Regions from separate parts of the Homo sapiens genome. Here all the other regions are linked to region 2. Evidence: promoter capture Hi-C in human tissues and cell types (Jung and others, 2019). All regions are on one chromosome and are shown on one strand. The core of a region is centred on a gene start or on the middle of the fragment in contact, and the rest is flanking DNA. Distances in the headings are between cores, read along the strand shown. Region 1 overlaps SNX3 (sorting nexin 3). Region 2 holds the start of CD164 (CD164 molecule). Region 3 overlaps SEC63 (SEC63 protein translocation regulator).

The links. Contacts are between HindIII fragments. The study calls those that stand out against the background at their distance.
Region 1: a fragment that was not itself captured here is called in contact with the fragment with the promoter of CD164 in region 2 in 1 of the 25 tissues and cell types used here (hippocampus).
Region 3: a contact is called between a fragment that was not itself captured here and the fragment with the promoter of CD164 in region 2, in 1 of the 25 tissues and cell types used here (aorta).

Annotation. Positions count from the first base shown.
Region 1 is chr6:108,226,854-108,230,279 of GRCh38, reverse strand. All of the region lies in intron 1 of SNX3 (sorting nexin 3), which reads left to right. Among named protein-coding and RNA genes, the nearest start is that of SNX3, 32 kb to the left of the region's middle. RefSeq lists a silencer at 118-318. The HindIII fragment of the contact is 3,127 bases long and covers 453-3,426 here.
Region 2 is chr6:109,380,721-109,383,822 of GRCh38, reverse strand. CD164 (CD164 molecule) reads left to right here and starts at 1,356. Exons shown (of 6, transcript NM_006016.6): 1 at 1,356-1,619. The coding sequence starts at 1,445. RefSeq lists enhancers at 739-968, 1,049-1,398, 954-1,463 and a silencer at 1,619-1,898. The HindIII fragment of the contact is 8,715 bases long and covers 1-3,102 here.
Region 3 is chr6:107,949,064-107,952,367 of GRCh38, reverse strand. All of the region lies in intron 1 of SEC63 (SEC63 protein translocation regulator), which reads left to right. Among named protein-coding and RNA genes, the nearest start is that of SEC63, 7.5 kb to the left of the region's middle. The HindIII fragment of the contact is 5,484 bases long and covers 1-3,304 here.

The DNA.
Region 1 (3,426 bases), core at 767-3,266, 1.2 Mb after region 2:
TAGGGGGAAAATATGAATATTAGAGTGAGAGAATACTAAATCTTGCTGTTTAAATTTCAAAAGTTTTAGTCATCTTAAAGTAAGTTAACAATATTTAAGCCTGATTTACATTTAATTTCAGAATTCAGCATTCTTTCTGGGTAAATCTAGAGCATTTAAAGTGGCATCCAAGATAAAACCTTTAAGGGATTTTTGCTGTAATTTGCCTCAGTAGTCTGACTCTTGTCCATACATTTCAAAGCAGATAAACCTAGGAATCAACTAGAGCCATCTGTTCTTAATTCTACACCTTAATGCTACATGCAGCTCATCTGTGGCTTCTACTTCTGTAGTAACTTCTCTGTTCTATTTTTTCTGTTCATAGCTATCATTTTTCTATTCAAACATATTTATTAACTCCTGATGCTCACAGGTAGTCACCTTAGCCCCATATTTAGAGTGCAATTTAAACTTTTCAGTTTTATTTCCCATCATTCCCTATGCTTTAGAATATTCAAGAATTATATACTAAATATACACTGTACTTGTTTCTTCTCTGCATTTAGCTCACACTATTTTCACCATTTTCAGCTGTCTTATAGTATGGCTAGCTCTGTGTTAAAAGAGTCCTGGCTGAGGCCATTGCACTCGCGCCATTTTACCCTAGCATGGGCGACAAGAGCGAAACTCTGTCTCAAAAACAAACAAAACGAAAAAGAGTCCTGACTGGCCGTACGCAGTGGCTCACACCTCATATTCCAGCACTTTGGGAGGCTGAGGTGGAAGGATCCCTTGAGCCCAGGAGTTCAAGACCAGCCTGAGCAACTTAGGGAGACCCTGTCTCTAAAGGAAGGAAGGGGAGGGAGGGAGGGGGAGAGGGAGGGGAAGCAGAGAGACTGAGGAAAGGAAAGAAAAGGAGGGGAAAGAATGAATGAATCCGGGCCAAATCAATTGTCAATTCTTCCGTGCTTTTCATATTATACAAATGGTATTATGCTATATAATATACTGTTCTGAAACTTTTTTTTTTTTTTTTTTTTTGAGGTGGAGTCTCGCTCTGTCGCCCAGGCTGGAGTGCAGTGGCATGATCTCACCTCACTGCAACCTCCGCCTCCCGGGTTCAAGCGATTATCCTGCCATAGCCTCCGGAGTAGCAGGAATTACAGGCTCGTGCCACCTCACCCGGCTAATGTTTGTATTTTTAGTAGAGATGGGGTTTCACTGTATTGGCCAGGCTGGTCTTGAACTCCTGACCTCAAGTGATCCACCCGCCTCAGCCTCCCAAAGTGCTGGGATTATAGGCATAAGCCACCGCACCCAGCCTGAAACTTTTTACATGTCATACATTCTAGACAGCTTTTCTGATTAACCTATGGCTGAGTTATATTTTGTAAAAAGCTGTGTAATATAAGCTTGTAATGTAAGATTTATTGTTTCTGGTCTTTTTTGGGGTTTTTTTTTGTGTCTATTACAATGCTAAAATATTTTTGTATGTGTGGAAATATTTGTAGGATTAATTCCCATTGAAATTGTTCATTCAAAAGTTATGTGTATTTAATAGAGTAATGGATAATGTATTCACCAAAATGCCCCCCTTTTTTTTGAGACCGTCTCCCTCTGTCACCCAGGCTGAAATACAGTGAGTGATGTGATCACAGCTCATGCAGCCTCAGCCTCGAAGGCTGAAGCCATCCTGACACCTTATCTTCCCACTACAGGCATGTGCCACCATACCCAGCTAATTTTTTTTTTTTTAAACAGAGTTTCGCTCTTGTTGCCCAGGCTGGAGTGCAGTGGCGCAATCTTGGTTCACTGCAGTCTCCGCTTCCCGGGTTCAAGCAGTTCTGCCTCAGCATCCCGAGTAGCTGGGATTACAGGTACCCGCCACCATGCCTGGCTAATTTTTGTGTTTTTAGTAGAGACAGGGTTTCACCATGTTGTCCAGGCTGGTCGCGAACTCCTGACCTCAGATGATCCACCCGCCTTGGCCTCCCAAAGTGCTGGGATTACAGGCATGAGCCACCACGCCCAGCCTGCCCAGCTAATTTTTTATTTTTTGTAGAGATGGGGGTCTCACCATGTTGCCCAGCCTGGTCTCAAACTCCTGTGATCCTCCCACCTCAGCCTTCCAAAGTACAGGGATTACAGGCTTGAGCCATCATGCCCAGCCAGTTTGTAGTATTTTTAACCATGGAAATTCAACTTTTTATATGCTTATTTTCTAACCTTGATTGGTGTATGTTTCATAAGGGCCAGGTCTGCATCTTATTCATCATTATAAATAATGATTCTCCCTTATCTAGCATGGTGCCCTTTTATAGATGATCAGTAAATAATAGTTTAGTCCTCCTGAAGCTGTAGGTAAAAAACCTCTCCGCCCTTCAATCATTTTATGAAAGTTAAATAAATTGAAAGTGACCAATCACAGGAGTTTCAGCAGTGATAGTTCAGTACCTTAAACAACAACAACAACAAAAAAAAAAAACCCACATTTTGCACTTAGTTATTTTAATCAGTTACATTGAATTACAAATCCTTGTAATGATGAGGAAGACGTTTAACAGGCTAAGTTAACCACTGCATATGTAATGGGCAAGTGATGTTTGAATTTCTTGATGTGACTTTAAACTCTAAAGCAGTCCTCATGCAAAAAGAGAAATCATAACCAGTTAAGAAAACTAAAGGAACTTTCTTAAGCTAATCATGGTCCTCTAAATTTAAGTATATAAACTATCAAACTATTAGCTAATCATAGAAGGGAAAGTACTTTTCCCCCTCACCCCTCCCCTTTCTGTTAGAGTGAATCAGATATAATCATGATTGTGTCAAAAGTTCAAAAGGGAAAATGGAAGGTAAAATGAGCTGAATTGGCACTCTTCTCTCAACATTGTACCTGTAAGCTTGATATGTTGTTTCAGAGATTAACTTTATAGACTTCCGTACCCAGAAGTATGAAAATTCTTAGGGGACTCTTTTCGCAAGCTTGATCTTAACGTATTTGAATAAAGAGAGCAGTTAATCCCCTTTGTAAAGTAATTTGAGAGGAGGGAATTCAGAATGTAAAATCTCACCTGCAGAAAACACTCAACTCTGTAAAGGCCTTTTTATCTTTAAGGCATTTACAAAGACTTAATATTTTAATGCGGAAGGGTGAACTTGGTTAAAAAGCCAATAGGTGAAATTAGAGAGAAATAATCCAGTGCTTTCTTTCTGGGAATTATTCTACTCTCCAGGGGACCTAATTTTATTCCCTGTGGGGAATGAGAATACCCTCTGTACAACAAGCCAGCATCTTTAAATATAAGCTTGACTTTTAGTATAATAAGAGTCTTGTTAGGTGCAATTTTTTCCTTAGTCATTTATACAATGAACAAATGTTGTGGTTACCTGGGAAAGAAAATTCAAGTGCTTTTAAATCTCTTGTGAGATTTGGTTTCATGCTTGAAA
Region 2 (3,102 bases), core at 107-2,606:
TTCCCTGACAGCATTCTCATGCTTCTGGGCTGGATCAGTCAAAACTATCAGCTTTTTGTTTACATCCAAGCAACACTACTCCAACTAGCGTAGTCATTGGAACAAATGTTCATAGTCCTGAGGGTACAGAAGGACGACACTGAAAAGATCCCAAGGGGAAATAAAATCTTTCTATTTGAGCAAAAAGGTAAAAGCACTATGTAGTCATCTTTTTTGGCACATCAAAAAAGTCATCGTGGCACATCAAGACAGACCTCACGAAAGCAATTAATATTCCTATATTATTAGGATAACTTTGCATAATTAAAATTACATAAGTGTACAACAGCTGAAAACACAGCATTAAATACAACTTTTAAAGTCTAATTTTTACCATGTGATAACCGTATCAAATTTTGCGAATATTTTGTGAGACTTGGCAGTAGATGGCGCTCACCTTTACTAAAAGTCTGAGCAGCGCCTTAACACTAACAGGAACTTAAGAATCCAGCTCTGATGTCAGGCAATCCCGTGTCCAGGTCAGGTCACTTTTTTAAGTCTCAGTTTCCTCACTGGTAATGTGGGGGTGGGGGCCTCCCCAATGACCTCGCAACTCAGACCGCTTTTGATTCTCTGACTACAGTGGTGGAGTTGAGACAGGTCGGCTGCTGCAACCGCCGTCTGAAATAGCAATCCGGAAAAGTCAGGTTGGGAAAGTGACAGAGTAGACGCCCTGCGGCTCTGATCCGGGCGGCGCCTCAGCTGCCCACACTATGTGGGCGGCAACGCACAAACTCCTTAACCACGTGGTGCCTCCATTCCCCTAGGGAGTCCCATCACAGGATAACTTCTAGCAAAATCAATCTTCAAGAAAAAAAGAAGGGGTCCTGCCGAAGATATAAGGAAGCTCCCTGGGGATCCCGCAGCACAGCACAAACTTAGTTCTTGAGAGCCGCACAAAACCAACTTCCGCCCCAGTGGAGTTGCGTCCGGAAGGCGCGGCCCCGGAGGTCACGTGGGCCCGCGGAATTACAGCCTGGCGGGGCGCTCAGGTGGAAGCAGTAGGCCACATTATGTCGACTGTTCCATGCAAGTCAGGGTGGGGGCCGTCCCTATCGCAGGCATGAGACAAGTCCAGCTGCGTCGTGTCTGGTAATCTGAGGGCAAGAAGAACGATTTGCAGAAGCTCCCAGTTTTCTTGGCTGTGGCACAGTCGCTTTGAGGGCCAGGTTCCTTCGGCTTCCTCCCGACTCCCCTGCTTCCCCCCGTAGGATTCCCGTTGGTATCGTCCGAGCCCCACCTCCCTCCTCTTCGCCCCCGCACGCCGAAAACAGGGGCCTCTCACGTGACCCCTGCGCGCTCCCGCGGGGGAGCGTAGTCTCGGAGGCGGCGCCGCAGGGGATTGAGGGGTTGACTGAGCGTTGCGAGCCTTAGCTTTCTCCCGAACGCCAGCGCTGAGGACACGATGTCGCGGCTCTCCCGCTCACTGCTTTGGGCCGCCACCTGCCTGGGCGTGCTCTGCGTGCTGTCCGCGGACAAGAACACGACCCAGCACCCGAACGTGACGACTTTAGCGCCCATCTCCAACGTAACCTCGGCGCCGGTGACGTCCCTCCCGCTGGTCACCACTCCGGCACCAGGTGGGCGCGGGCCCTGTGGGCTTCCCGCCCTCCCCTGCCCAGCCGAGCCGCACTGCCTCCTCGCCGTGCGGGCGGGGCCCGGGTTCGGGCCACGGTCGGGCGGGCGGGCCGCGCTCGGGGTGCGGCGGCGACTCCGGCAACATGGCGGCCAGCCTGGAGTCCACTCGTGGCCGGGCCGGGTGGGGAGCGCGCTGGGGGGAAGCGGACGCGCGGTTCCCAGTGGCTGCGGGGCTGGGGCCCCCCTCGAAGTGTTGCAAGTCGAGGTGCCTTTTAAAAGTGCATCGTAATTCCTAGCCTCACTTGGGGTCGGAAATGGGGACGTGGCTTCCTTCCGCGGGGGCAGCGGTGGGGTTGAGGATGGGGCCGGGCGTCGCGCCTCTGAGGTTGGCGGTGGGGCCGAGCTGCCTCTCCCTGCCACTGGTTGTTCACCCTCCCGGCGCCTCTCTCCGGAGGTAGCCTTCTCCGGAAGTCCGGGAAAGAGAAACTTAAAGACGGTAATGCTCGTTCGTGTCTCAGACTTGAGTCTGAGAAGGTCGCTTGAGATTTAATTACATTGGTTTTGCAGATAGGAATAGAATGTAGCTGACGTTTGAGCACGTAGTTAGTGAAAACTTCACACTTCAAAGTATGCGAAAAGGAAGAAAAGTACCCATGTATGTACCGGGTGTTTTGCGTACGTATCCTAAGGCTAAACTGGAAGGTAGGTAGTGAAACCTAGGAGGTAGATGCAGAGACGGAGATGAGTAAACTCTCCTGACATTGTATGTTTATTCTTTTTTCAATTGTTTTTAAAATTTTCTTAACTATGTCCTGTGCTCAGATAGCGTATGTTTAGTAGGTCGTGGAACGGGGGTTTGTGCCCAGGTCTGTGGGTTTTCTAAAACCCGATCAGGAGCGTGTCTTTTGTTATGTGCAGTCGCATAGGGCTGGTTAAGGCATACATACATTTTAAAGCAGAAATTGCCATATACCGTGACAACACAAAAGAGAGAAGGAAGATAAGTTTGAGGTAATAAGCGGGAGAAACACTAGAGGTTTAAAACCTGCAGTCTCGTATGATTGGTTATTCTAGTTAACATTAGTTAAGGAGTAATGTTTACGTAGTTAACATTGGCTTCTTGACCGAAGAATGCCGAAGTGTAATGATTTTTATCACGGCATTCATATTCTACAAATTCTCCTCTAGTTTTAGTATTTTATAAAAGTTTAATAAAGTATATAGTAAACTTAATGTTTTGTTTTTAGTTTAAGGAAGATGTAATGGTAACATTTCAAAACGAGGGAAGTAAATTGCAGTATAATACTGGGAATTCTAACCGCACTATTTTAAGATGATAGAGCAGAATATGTTTGTCTCAGTCTTAATTTGACAGTTTCCTTTCAGAATTGTAGTGTGTGTGTAAGAGAAGGTTGGAAGTATCAAATTAATTTGTCTTTGTGTAATTGAAGTGCGTGCAAAGGAGGTATGTATTTTCTGGAAATC
Region 3 (3,304 bases), core at 678-3,177, 1.4 Mb after region 2:
TAGTGGGCTCTTGAATACACCAGAAAGCATAGCACCATTTCACAGCTTGTAAAGTCTGCGGTTTGAAAAATGGAAATAGTTCGTTTATTGGCATATTTGACATGTTAATTGAACGTACCTGTTATCTAAAACATTATTAATGGAATACTTTTGCCTTGATTTCTGCTTAACATGTTTAGCTAAGCGTACTTATAATTAATACCCCTTTTAGTAGTTATTTGTTTTACTCTCTTGGTTTGCAAATTGGCTGAATAAAATGAATATTTCTTCAGACAATTAAGGACAAAAGCTCTGTATGCAATGATAACACGGAGGGCTTAGATTTCCTTGGCATAGTGATTCTTAACCCTGGCTACACATTAGAATCACTTCGGGAACTTTTTTTTTTTTTTTTTGAGATGGAGTCTCGCTCTGTCACCCAAGCTGGAGTGGAGTGGCGCGGTCTCAGCTCACTGCAAGGTCTGCCTCCTGGGTTCACCCCATTCTCCTGCCTCAGCCTCCCGAGTATCTGGGACCACAGGCGCCCACCACCACGCCTGGCTAATTTTTTGTATTTTTAGTAGAGACGGGGTTAGCCAGGATGGTCTTGATCTCCTGACCTCATGATCCGCCTGCCTCAGCCTCCCAAAGTGCTGGGATTACAGGCTTGAGCCACCGCGCCCGGCCCACTTCGGGAACTTTTTAAAACACTTGTACCCATCCCCAGATACTCTGATTTATTTGGTCTGGAGTGGGTGTTATGTACTGGTATTTTTTAAATATCCCTATATGATTCTAAATTGTAGCTATGTTTGAGAAGTGCTGCTTGGAGGAGAGCTTCCTTAGTAATGGTCTTTTGCTGTAGTTGCCATTTTGGGAGGTAGTATATTTGTTTTGCTATGTGCTCTTTGCTAACAACAACAACAAAATCCAAAAAACTAATGTGTTAGCCTTTTTGTTTTACATAGCTAAGAAGCACTTACAGAACAGTAACGTAAAGTTCTGGGAGTTAAAAGCCAGATATTTTTGTCAAACAACTTTAATGATACAAGTTTACAATCAGTTTATCATAGTTGTCTATTAATGGCTTCCAGAGTATTTACCATTGTGCTATGATTGGAGCCTTATGTAATTTGGATATCCTTAACATTTTGAAATAATTGCACATAATTACCTTAACACTACCCATCTTTGGTATTGCCAACAATACTGTGCTGTGACCTTTTGTGTGTACTGCCCACTTTGTGCTTTCTTGTAATTGTTAATGTTTGTCTTTCCTAGTGCTTTTAAAATGAGAAGTGTTCTTAATGTTTATGTGGAATTTCAATCCAACCATTATTTGTAAGTGCATAATTTTGTTTACTGCTTTTTTGATTTACAATAGAAGAGTTATCACTTTAAACATTTTATATCATTAGGCTTTCATTGATATATTTGACAAGAGTATTATCTGACAAGAGAAAATAACTGATTGCTTGTAATTATTAGAATTTCGAATAATCAAAAGCATGCTTTTATTCTTTCCGTAGGTTATGGAAAGAATTCCTTTTGAATTGAGATAAAATGTATCATTTAAAAAAAGTTTTTGTTGACTCCTTGATCTTACTTTTGGGGCTTGATCTTCCCTTTTCAAAACTTACTTAACCTTACTTTTTCAAAATGCCTGGTTTTGAAATGTGGCTCTGCAGCCTACTGTAATTTTAGGCAAGTTATTTAACTTCCGTGTGTTTCAGTATACTCATCTGTATTGGTTACTGATTTAACTTCTGTGTATCTCAGTATACTCATCTTTATTGGTCATACTCATCTGTTACGGTCAGAGAAGATACTTTGTATGATATCTGTCTTTCAAAATAAAATATCTTGTGGCTTAACATATAGTCTATCCTGCAAAACGTCCCATGGCACTTCTGAACAATGTATGTGCTGCTGCTGTAGGGTAGTGAGCGTTGTATATGTCTGTTAGATCTAGTTGGTTTGTGTTAAGTCCTCTATTTCCTTATCTTCTTTTTGGTTGTTCTATCCATTTTTGGGGATGGAGGGTGTATTGAAGTCTGAAACTATTATTGTAGCACTGTCTGTTTCTCTCTTCAGTTCTGTTGGTTTTTGCATTGTACATTTTGATGATCATTAGATACGTAAATGTTTATAAATGTTATATCTTCTTGCTGTATTGAACCTCTTACTAATATGTAATGTCTTTTATCTCTTGTAATCTTTTTTGTTTTAAAGTCTATTTTGTCTTATAGTCACCACCCTGCTATCTTTTGGTTACTGTTTCCATGGAATATTTTTTCCATCCTTTCACCTTCAATCTGTTTGTGTCTTTGGATATAAAGTGAGTCTCTTGTAGATGGACGTAGTTGGATCAGGTGCTTTTAATCCATTCTGCCAGTCTTTTGATTGGAACATTTAACCATTTACATTTAAAGTAATTACTGTTAAGGAAGGAGGGCCAGGTGCAGTGTTTCATTCCTGTAATCCCAGCACTTTGGGAAGCTGAGGTGGGAGGAACACTTGAGTCCAGGAGTTTGAACCAGCCTGGGCAACATAATGAGACCGTGTTCCTACAAACAAACAAACAAAAAAATATTAGCCAGGCATGGTGGCACGCACCTTTAGTCCTAGCTACTCAGGAGGCTGAAGCAGGAGGATCACTTGAGCCCAGGAGATCGAGGCTGCAGTGAGCTATGATCATGTCACTGCACTCCAACCTGGATGACAGAAGGAGACCCTGTCACACACAAAAAGTAAAAAGAAGGACCTCTGTCATTTTGCTATTTGTTTTCTATAGGCATATATCCTTTTGTTCCTTATTTCCTGCATTACTATTTTTTTGTTTAGCTGATTTTTTTTGTAGTGAAATGTTTACATTTCTTTGCATTTTCTAATTTTTATTTTATTTTATTTTTAAATAGAGACTGGGTTTTGCCATGTTGCTCAAGCTTGTCTCAAACTCCTGGGCCCAAGTGATCTATGTCTCGGACTCTCAAAGTGCTGGGATTACATGTGTGAGCCACTGCTCACATCTCATTTTCTTTTGAGTATATTCTGTAGTTACTTTTTGTGTGGTTACCATGGGGATTACATTAAACATCCTAAATATTGTAATTTCAATTTATACCAGTTTAACTTTGACATATAAAAACTCTGCTCCTTTATAGCTCCTTTCCCACCTCTTTCAGTATTTGATTTCCCCTAATTACATCTTTATACATTGTGTGCCCCAAAGCATAAACTAATAATTCTTTTAAATGCATTAGTTTATTGTTTAGAAAACAAAGTGTGGATGTAGGGGCCAAGGGAAACTTCCCTTTTGCCCTCT